3 separate regions of the Homo sapiens genome follow, and regions 1 and 3 are each linked to region 2. The links are contacts of gene promoters, found by promoter capture Hi-C in human tissues and cell types (Jung and others, 2019). All regions are on one chromosome and are shown on one strand. Each heading gives the region's core, a stretch centred on a gene start or on the middle of the fragment in contact. The rest is flanking DNA. Distances are from core to core; before and after follow the strand shown.

Region 1 (3,595 bases), core at 505-3,004, 990 kb before region 2:
GACAATTCATTTAAAGAGCAATTGGTCAGTCACCTTAAGTTGGTCATGGCGCGTTGTGCTGGAGAGGAAGAGATAAACCCAGACTAGAACAAACCAGTGAGCTGGGAAAAATGAGACCCAAGAAAACAGAGATGCCCCTGGTGGAAAACCATGAAGACAGTGTGGAAAGTCAATCAGACAAAGTCTAGGGGAGAGGACAAGGCTGGCAGTGAGGAAGTGGGTGAGTTCCAGGCAACTCTTGTGGCCGCTGGGTCTTTTCTGTGGTTCTGTCACTTCCTTTGTAAGTGGATGTGACATGAGTCTTGAAGGGACAGATAAGAATACCTCTCACCAGGGTTTATCATTATTGGTTCACATCTGTCATATTCAGTAGAATATGTATTTTTTAAAGAAATTAGGTTTGTTTTGTATAAAGATTAGATGTATACAATAAAAATATTAAGTAATAATAAAAATCACGAAATAAAAAGGAAGAGAATCCCTCTACCTCTACACTATGAATCTTGCTTCCCAGAGGTAACCACCATTAATATTTTTTGGGTAGGGATTCTTCTGTGTGCATGTAGGCATAGGAAAATGATCACTCTTGTAATATCGATTTTTAAGGCTAAAAACCAGATAAATACATAATACTGTGATAAATAAGAAAAAAGTAAGGTGCTACAAATGTCTAACATAGCTGCTTGGGAAACTGACAAACTCAGTTTTAAATGGTATGTATAAGTGGTGAGGAAAATACGCTAAATGTATATGAGTGGTTCTGAGGAATAGTGAATGAGGAATCACTATTTTATAGTCATATTCTCTACTGGTGAAGTCATAGATAGTCATATTCTCTACAGGTGAATCAAGAGGGATTATCACATTTTGCAGTAATAATTTTACTTGCTCTGAAGCACCATTGAGAATGGATTGTTAAAGAGATAATTGGTGAGCCTTTACCTGTGAATGCTGTACTCATCAGGAACCAGCATGCACTTGCAGAAATAAATCAGGAATTAAGTTAGACTACCAGTGTTGTTTTTTTTAAAGGGTCTTTAGGTTGGTAGCTAAAGAAGAAATATAAATGGTGTTCCTCAAATTAATTGGGGGCTTGAAATGTGATATCATGATATTCTTGTGGACAAGATGGAGGTATACGTTCTAGATAGTATTGAAGTTGGAAGGACTTTTAGCTAACAGCAGTCAAGGAATGTTATAAACTAATCAACCTCAGCTGAAAGTGAGAGCAGCTCTATCCTAAGGTCTGTCTTATTATTTGCTTTATTTTGACTAATTTCTGGGAAAACATATACAATGTCTCTGGTACATAGTAGATGATCAGTAAAAATACTTGCTGAATAATGTGATGTGAAAATGAATGCAGGAAAAAGTGATCGAAGGATGACATGAATTTGGAAGGAACAACTAGCTAATAATCTGGGTGATGCAATTAGGAAACAAACTAACAAACAAAAAACCTCTTGGACAATGGCCCAGGTAGATCATCCACCTGCCGTGCAGTAGGTGAAAAGAATGAAAGTTCTCACCTGCTGCATTTGTTCTTTCATTTGATTTGTTCTTTCATGCAAATCTCAGCTTCTGAAGCAGAGAGAGCAGGCTGGATGGCTGCAAGTCCATTTCCTGAGCTTTTTTGTTCCCTGGCTGTATGCTGGTGCAACACTGCAATGAATTTGAAGGAAATTGCAGAGTTCCCCCAAATCCATCCTGTCTTGTCTGGTACTCCCAGAGAGCAATCATGGTTAGCCATTAAGACTGTATCACCTTTCTACCGAACAGTCTCTTCAAGAAACTGCTAACTTCTTGTGGCACCCAGTTTGATGACTGTAGGAAGGAGTCTCCAGCCCCTTGGCCTCTGGCTGCATTCCTGGAAAGACACTCTATCTCTTAGTTTTCTCTCCCCTCAATTTATTGTCAAACCATGCAAATGAGGCTTCCTTAACTATTTCTTGGACATCTTAAAATTAAAGTCTGCACATTAATAATTTGTTCAGCTTGTTGGTAAAAGTAGCATCAATATTATGAGATCATTGGTCTGGCCTGGGTTCTCTATTCAAATCTTCATTTCCAGGAGCTAAGGATGCCCGCCCTCCTCTTTTGAGTCCCACACCCATCCTCTCACATATTTATCTACTTCAATTAAGAGTGGGAAATTTGTTCAAGAGGAGACAGTCCTGGGGGACATGAAGGGAATTTTTTTGTCAGGGAGGCAATGTAAGGTCTGAACTATATGGTCATCTTGTTGAGAGCAGAGTCTCTGCTTGCTTCATTCTCCATCCTTTATATTCTTGTTACTTAAAGTGTAGTTCACCTCACCTGGGAGCTTGTTGGAATTGCAGAATCCCTCTGCTGAATCAGACTCTGCAGTTTAATCAGATCACCAGTGATGGTGATTTGCATGCACATTAACCTTCAGCAGCATGGGTCTGTATTACCCAACAAAGCGTGGTGAAGGAGGAAGTAGGCAGCTAACATTTATTGTGTGAGATGGCAGGAGAGAGAGGAAAGGAAGGGAAGAAAAAGGAAGGGGAAGGGAGGGTAGGGGAGAGGAGGAGAGGAGAGGGCAGGGAAGGGGGGGAGGAGGGGATGGGGAGGGAATGAAATAATATAAATTCACATGGGGAGAAAACAGTCTGAATTTGTGACAAGTATGACATAAAATTTTACTTAGTTTGCATATGGTAACACAAACCCATTGTTACAACTTTCTACTTTAGTAATAAAGTGAATATTGTGCACCTTAGGAGAAATTACTCACATATTTACATTTTACTTTCTTGCCTTGGAAAGGTATTTTTAAAATAGGTTAAATATTTCCATGGTTCTTTGATCAATATTTTAGAAAATGGATCATAAATAGAAGAAAAGTGAATTACTCCCTAGTTCAGGACACGTTATTAAAAAATCCAAGTTGGGCCAGGCACTGTGGCTCATGCCTATAATCCCAGCACTTCTGGAGGCTGAGGTGGGAAGATTGCTTGAGGTCAGGAGTTAAATACCAGACTGGGAAATATTTCGTAGAGACCCTATCTCTACAAAATAAATAAATAAATAAATAAATAAATAAATAAATAAATAAATAAAAATTAGCCAGGCATGGTGGTGTGAGCCTATAGTCCTAGTTACTTGGGAGGCTGAAGTGGGAGGATCATTTGAGCCCAGGAGTTTGAGGTTACAGTGAGCTATGATTGGGCCACCGTAGTCTAGCCTGGGTAATAGAGTGAGACCCTGTATGTTAAAAAAAAAAATCAAATTGTGGAGAACACTTGATCCATTCATAGAGTAAGCATGTTTCAAATAATATACAGTTGCTCTCATGAAGCTCATGGTCTAGGGTAAGGAAACAAATCTATAAACACTGTTCCCCCAAACAACATATTACAGTTACTATATTATATGCTATTAAAGGTAGGTACCGAAAGACAATTTACCTTTGCCAAGAGTGGGGAAGGGACTGGAGAGGACACCCCAGAGGATATAATTGCTGAGGTTCATCTTGAGGACTAGATTGGAGTTTGCCAGGTATTCAGTCACAAGACAGCAGTGTGTGCTAAGGTCATAGAGAGGACAACATGTCTTAGGGACTGAGGTGTGT
Region 2 (3,332 bases), core at 552-3,051:
AGTCCCTCTCCTTTCCTCGTTGCTCTCTTCCTGGCGCGGACTACTCTCCGGGCAGCAAAGCAGCTGTCCCGGCTTAACGCGCAAAGTTCAGAAAGCCAGGAGTCTCCAGATGGCCTTGGTGACTTCTCGGGACTATGCCTCGCCGCCCTTCAGCCTGGAGAGAAGTTACTCCGGGACCTCCCACCCTCTCGTCTCTCTCTCCGGCTCTGCTCGAGTCTAGGAGGCGGCGCTGGCGTGCGCTACTCTCGCCTTAGCCAAGGTCCCCTGCCCGCCCGCGCACCCGCCCGTCGCCCGCGGCCCGCGCGCCCTTCCTCCCTCTCGCTCAAGTCAAACAGGTCAAGGCTGGGGCCGCGGCAGGGACAGGGTCCGGGGTAGTCTGGGACTAGGGACGTGGGACAGGGAGTCCGGGCCGGGGCAAGGGCGGGGGCCAGGACCGGCCACGACTCACAGAAAGAACTCGGGAGAGGAGGGGCTGTCGCTGGTGGAGCCCGCCTCCCTGAAGCCGGAGTTGGCGAGTTTCTCGCACTTGACCTTGTAGGCGTCTCTCTCGCGGGCCAGCCGGGACACCTCCTGCTTAAGCTGCTCCACCTGCTGAATGAGCTGCGTCTTCTCATTCTCCAGGTGGTGCTTCTGCTGGACGCGTTTATACCTGCAAGACTGGGCGTAGCCCCGGTTCTTCAGGGTCCGCCGCTTCTGCTTCAGGCGGATCACCTCGTCCTTGGTGAAGCCCCGCAGGTGGCGGTTCAGCTCGCGCACGGACATGGACACGAGCTGGTCGTCGGAGAAGCGGTCCTCCACGCTGCCGTTGCCGCCCGCCGCCGTCGCCGAGGCCGTCGCGTGCGGCCCGGGCCCGGGGTGGCTAGTGGGCAGCTGTTGCGCCGGGCTAGCGGCGCTGGACGGCGGCGGCGACGCTTGGTGATGATGGTGATGGTGCGGGTGAGCGTGCGGGCCCAGCTCGTCGTGGGCCACGCCGGCGCCCGGGTACGCGTGGTGCGGGTGAGGGTGGTGGTGATGGTGGTGGTGGTGAGCGCCGCGAAAGCTGTCGAAGCTTTGCAGCGGCTGTGGCACTGGGTGCGAGCCGATGAGCGCTTCCACCGCGTCCTCGGGCGTCAGGTTGAGCGCCTCGGGGTTCATCTGCTGGTAGTTGCTCGCCATCCAGTACAGATCCTCGAGGTGTGTCTTCTGTTCGGTCGGGCTGAAGCTGGGCGACGAGGGCACGGAGCTACACGGAGTGCTGAGCGGTGTGGAGGACACCGAGCCGGCTGGCTGCAGGCGTGTGCAGGGCCTGCCCGGACGCTCCGCGCGCCCCAGTGGCTCCTTCTTCACGTCGAACTTGAGCAGGTCGAAGTCGTTGACATACTCCATGGCCAGCGGGCTGGTGGGCAGCTCTGGCCCCATGCTCAGCTCCGCGGCCATCGCTGAAGCGAGGCGCAGCCGCCGCTGCCGCCCGGGAAACTTTGCGGCCGGCCGGAGCGCGCCGAGCCAAGCGCGGGGGGGAAGAGCGGAGAAGAGCTGGGGAGGCGGGGAGCGAGGGCGCAGCGGGCCGGGGCCGCCGGCCAAGCCTTTGTCTGGGGACGCGGCGGCGCGCCGGAGAGTCCCGAGGCTGCCTGCACCGCCCCAGAGCTCTGGGCTGTGCCCGCGCAGGGACCGGGCCGGGTAGAGTCGGGCGGGGTGGAGAGGCAAGCGGAGCGCGCGGTGGGGCTGAGGGGAGGCGTGGGGCGAGTGCCCGTTGCTCGCTCTCTAGCTCTCTTGCTCTTACGCTCTCTCGCTCGCAGCCGCTCGCAGCTCGGCGGTGCAGCTGTGCTGGATCCGGCGGCGCCGCAGCCTTTTATCGCCTCCTGATGTCACTGGGGTGCGGGGGCCCGGGCGGCCCGGTGCGCGGGCCAATAGCTGCACGGCCTCCGCGGCCCAGCGGCGCAGGGCGGGGCGCGCCTGACAGCTCCCCCGCCCCCCGCGTCAGCTGACTGGCGGCCCGAGCGGCCCCGGAGCGGCGGAGGCCTGGCGGAGCGCTGGAGCGGAGTGGGACGGCCAGCCTGGGCCCACCCCCGTACCCTGCAGGTCCCGGCCCACGCACGCTCGCCTGGAGTGCGCGCCCCACCTCTAGGCCAAATCACCGCTTTCCCCTCCTCGCGCACTCTCCTCCCTCAGTTCCCTTTGCACCCCACCCCCATCCCGTGTCACCCCCAAGGAGGCTCAGAATGAGCGCCGGGACAACGCCTCCTGGGCCCTTTGTTCCCAAGCGGCCCCCGCCCAGTGGGCGACGCTCTGTGTGTCCTCGCGGCTTCTGGCCGTGTGTGTCGTGCGTTCCTGTTTCTGGAGATCTGCGCGTATTTGTATGTTGGGGAGGGCGGGCTCGAGGCTCCGAGAGTTGTGTTCAGACCCAACTCTTAACCTCAGGGGACCTTTCTCAGGCCAAGCGAGGGCCCCTCCTGGCGGGTGCAGTCGCAGAGCCCTGAGGTTCGACTCCACTGGCCCCGCCGCTCCCCGCGTTCACCCCACCGCACAATGTTCACAGTGAAGGCGACGGGAAAAGCAGCAGCCCAAAGGCTCTGAATTCCTCTTCCCCGCCACACGCACGGAATCCTGAGCCCCCGGAGCCTCGGGGCCGAGGCCGGCCCGGGACGGTGCTCCGAGTAGCTCTCCACTGCTGGGGAGCCGGCCCTGTTTTTGTTTGAACGTTTTGTAACGATTAAGCAGATCCCGGCGTCAGCCCGCCGCGGAGAGGCTCAAACAGGCATAAAGTGCGACCCCAAGTGGCCACTGTGCGCAAAGGCGCCGCGACCGCCCGGCCCACGGCCGGAAGGCTTGGACGGCGCCTCGTACCCAGCCAGGTCTCCCCTACCTGGCCCAACCCAAGCCAGCCCAGAACGCATACTATGTGTGCACCAGAGCCCAGGACAGGTTCCCCTCGAGCGATGTACAGGTCCTCGGGTCCCGTCTTCGTACTCAGCCGCGAGCCTCGAGCCGCGAGCTCCGCTCTGGTCGCCCCGTTGAAATTCCGTGCCCCAGCGTTCGGGGGTGCCCGTCGGCTGCTCCCTGGGCCGGAAGGTCCTGGGCGGAGGAAGGCCGGTAGCCAAAAGTGGAAGCGCCACAGTGAAGCGGCCCAGGGCCACCGGGTGAGAAACCTCCCCGGAGGGCAGACGGGGAGACCGAAGCACACCGCACTAGGCATCCAGACTGGGCTTGGGAGCCGCGCACCCTCCCTACCCAGATCCAGGATGGCTAGAATTAACGGGTTCTTTCTGAGACCTCGGCTCAGGCGCCGAAACCGGATAGATCGCGAATTCGCTGGACCCGGAGACCCGACCCGCCTCCCGCGTCACCTTCTTCTT
Region 3 (3,627 bases), core at 855-3,354, 930 kb before region 2:
TTTCTTCATCATCCCTCATTTTGACATATGCTGTCCTAGGCTGGTTCTACAGCAGCTACCTCTCAAGTGTTCATATCCACACTGGTCTTGTTTGTGCTTTGTGTTTCTGGGACTAGAGCTCTAAAACCATATTTCTACTCTACTACCTGGCTCCACCTAGGTTCTGCTAGTTGAGGAAGACTAGAAGAAGGCTTTCTGCTTCCTGTTTCTTTCTGCCTCTTGTTCTTTTAACGATGTCCTAAGCAACGGCTAACAGTACTCACCCTAACAGTAGTAGTTCTTTCCTGTCTCAGCAGCTGAATCCAGCTGGGTTTTTTAAAATGACACTTACAGAACTAGTGCCATAACCCCCGTCCCCCAATCAGCATGGGCCAGTTTAGACCCCTCCTCAGTTGTTTGAGCCTCAGCTCCAAGGTGTCCCTTCTGTAAGGGTCTAAGTATTCATAATTAAAATCTCTTTCGTTTGTTCACACAGCTGTGGGGTGGTAGCTATTTACTACAGGTGCTACTTTTGGATACCACAGGGTGTTATCTTTGTCATTTCAGTTCCTCAACACAGCTCTTTATATTAAATTTTCTGTTAAAAGAATACATGCAGTTCTTTCTGACTCCTGATTATACCTGTCCAATATACTCCATTCATTCTCCCCACTCCCTAGGCCAACAATCTGAGTGGTAAAGCAGAAAGTGATTTGAATGAGATCATATAAAGGATTCCAGCATTATCTCAGTCACTGTTTCTGGGCTAAACTGAGCTGTCTCTGTTCTCAGCTCTCAGAGTGAGCTCTTCTCAGTCGCTAGGAAGTTAAGGCCTAAGAAGACGAGCCTCCATGGAACAGACCTACCACCAGCCTACCCCTGCTGGCTTTTCCTGGTTTGTTTAGTCATGAATACATTGATCTGAATTTGTCACATTTATTCTTCTCACTTGGAATCTTGTATCTACTACCTTGACAAAATCATGGAAAGAGACCATGACCACATTTTTATTATCTGATTGTCTTCCTGGAAATAAAGAGTTGCGACTGTCACTGGCTGGCAACTATAATTGTTAAACCTAACTGAAGAATTGAAGTCTACTACATTCAGGAGTGTTTGGATCCTAGACCCTGATTTTGGCTTTCAATTCATGTCTTTCTGCACTGGCACATTTTTGCATATGTATACATGTTCATGTGTTGTAGGTCCTTCTGTGTCCATATATGCACACTTGCATGTACAGGAACAGGTGCCACTGTGTAGGCATGTGTGTGATGTGTGCATGTGTGAATATGTGTGTGTGTGAATGTGCTTAGGATAGACAAGACCATTTTCATACACAAGACTATTTTCACCACTATATCTCTAGTATCTCACATAGGGTCTGTGCTAATGGATACTCAAACATAGTTATTGAATGAATGAATGGATGCATGAAAGAATGAGTGTTAATGCTAACACAAAAAGGAATGAAATCTGTTCATTTCTTTATTTAAGGTGGGCCCATCTAGATCAGCTCTATTTAATAGACATATAATGCAAGTCACATAAGTAATTTTAAATTTTCTAGTAACCACATTGAGGAAAATAAAAAGAAATAGAATAAATTAATTTTAAAAATATTTTTATATAATCAATATGTCCAAAGCGTCATTATTTCAGAATAATGAATATAAAATAAATACCAATGAGATATTTGCATTTTTAAAAGCCTTTGAAATTCAGTATATATTTTACTCTCATAGCACATCTAAGTTAGGAGTAGCCACATTTCATGGACTCAATAGTCCCATGTGGCTCAAAATTGCAGTTTTAGTCAGTTTAAGTCTTGTTAATATCCTTTGGACAATGGAGGAATGGAGGATATTTTCTATTTTCTATTCTTCAAAGTTTAGAATAAGGAGTCTTTGGAATCCAGGATACTTTCTGGATTGGAGAAACGTTGGTTGAGAATGTGAATCTCTGATAACCCTTAATTGCTGCAAAAGTTACATGGTTCAGCTCACATGTCTTTCTCTGTCCTCCCACTCCAGTGTTCTGGAGGGGAACCAAACTAGGGCCCTATTCTGAAACCTGTTTTCCTTTCCTAAAATCTGAGCCCCTTTGCTGGAAATGTGTCTCTCTCTCTGGAACCTGATCCCATTCCGGAAACCTGTATCTTTTTCTGGAACTGGCTACAACTATCTCTTTCCTCTTCAAGCTCAGCCATGAAGAAATTTTTTAAAAATAAAGAATACAAACACACACTAATAACAAGAAAGCATGTGTTATCTTCTCTCTCGTATCCTGCATCTTCAATGTCTTTGTATTAGATCAGATATTGCTCAAAATACAGGAGCCTGAAATTTCTACCCACCCTTTTTTTTTGAGCCAGAAATTCCCTAGATTCACAATGTCATCATCCACCCCTATCAATACCCCATTTTATGGCTGTGACGGTGGTAGAAATTCACATGGCCTTAGTGGAAAGCCCTGTGTCTCCCCTTCCCCCTGCCTCATCTTCTCTGTTATTAGGTACAACAGAATCTCAGAGATGGCTCCATTGGCTTCAGACCTTCTGCCCATTACATTACATACAATGTCTTTTTAAATTTTCTAAAATGGAGTAATTTTTAACAAGCGGGTGGTGGGGAGTACTTCCCATATTTTTCATTAACGTATACTGTTAACTATGCCAGTAAATTATGGATAATTTAATTTAATTTAGGCTTAATGGCAACATTTTTCCTCACTAATGAAATGGTTATTTGTTATTAGGAAAATATTTATTGAAGTGGAATTGTGTGATCTCTCACATCATTATTAAACCTTGTTAAACCATTTTTTAATTTCAATTTGGGTTTAATTAAGAGTCATTAAGCATTTTATTGAATCTAAATTAAATTCTAATGGAAATGGGATTTGCCAAAGAGACAGTTGTGCCCTTTCTTCACTCTCAGTTCTCTCAAAGTGACATAGTTACAAAAGGACTTGGGGTGAAGTGGAACTCCAATATTATTGATAAAATGGAAAGAACAAAGGCTTTGTTTCAGATTGATCATAGTTCTAATACCAGAACTGCTTCTGACATACCATGAGACCTTGGGCAAGTCATATCATTTTTGTGATAATCACCTTACTCTTCTGTAAGATGAGGACTGTAATAGAGTGTCTGTGGAAACAAAAGGACAAAAATTATATACCAAATGGATATTTTAAGCTTCTTTTTTTGTCTGAGGTATCTACAATTCCTTAGGAAATGGAATTTAAAAAAAAAAAGTTTGTTGAAGGAAAAAAAAAAAAGGAAACCGATGTGACTAAAAAAATGCCAATGTACATCGAGTTGTCTATCTGAAGCCTGAATTCCCAAAGAGGATGTAACTGGAGCAAAGACAAGGGAGTAAATTAGAGTTTAATGAGCCTGAACTTGGAAAAGGCTAGACCAAGAAGACAGGAGCACAGGTCAACTGTGATGAGTCTTGTCCACCTGAAAACACATGGGAGGCTTCCCCCCTGGGTTTGGACCTTATGAAACATTTGGTTAACGTGAAGCCTGCATGACATGGATAGATCTTTCTTGGCCCAATATAGTGGAATTCAAAAGTAAATCCTAGTCCTATGTAGATTCCTTGAAAGGGATAAATATCAATATTCATTCTTTCAACAGAT

The links. The method cuts DNA at HindIII sites, captures the fragments that hold promoters and counts their contacts. A contact is called where the count stands out against the background at its distance.
Region 1: a contact is called between a fragment that was not itself captured here and the fragment with the promoter of MAFB in region 2, in 1 of the 25 tissues and cell types used here (lymphoblastoid cells).
Region 3: a fragment that was not itself captured here is called in contact with the fragment with the promoter of MAFB in region 2 in 1 of the 25 tissues and cell types used here (dorsolateral prefrontal cortex).

Annotation. Positions count from the first base shown.
Region 1 is chr20:39,700,496-39,704,090 of GRCh38, forward strand. No RefSeq gene overlaps it. Among named protein-coding and RNA genes, the nearest start is that of LINC01370, 300 kb to the right of the region's middle. The HindIII fragment of the contact is 4,850 bases long and covers 1-3,595 here.
Region 2 is chr20:40,687,435-40,690,766 of GRCh38, forward strand. MAFB (MAF bZIP transcription factor B) reads right to left here and starts at 1,802. Exons shown (of 1, transcript NM_005461.5): 1 at 1-1,802. The coding sequence starts at 1,416. The coding sequence ends at 445. RefSeq lists silencers at 1,665-1,734, 1,755-2,064 and enhancers at 2,015-2,992, 2,993-3,332. The HindIII fragment of the contact is 9,965 bases long and covers 1-3,332 here.
Region 3 is chr20:39,752,187-39,755,813 of GRCh38, forward strand. No RefSeq gene overlaps it. Among named protein-coding and RNA genes, the nearest start is that of LINC01370, 250 kb to the right of the region's middle. The HindIII fragment of the contact is 7,038 bases long and covers 1-3,627 here.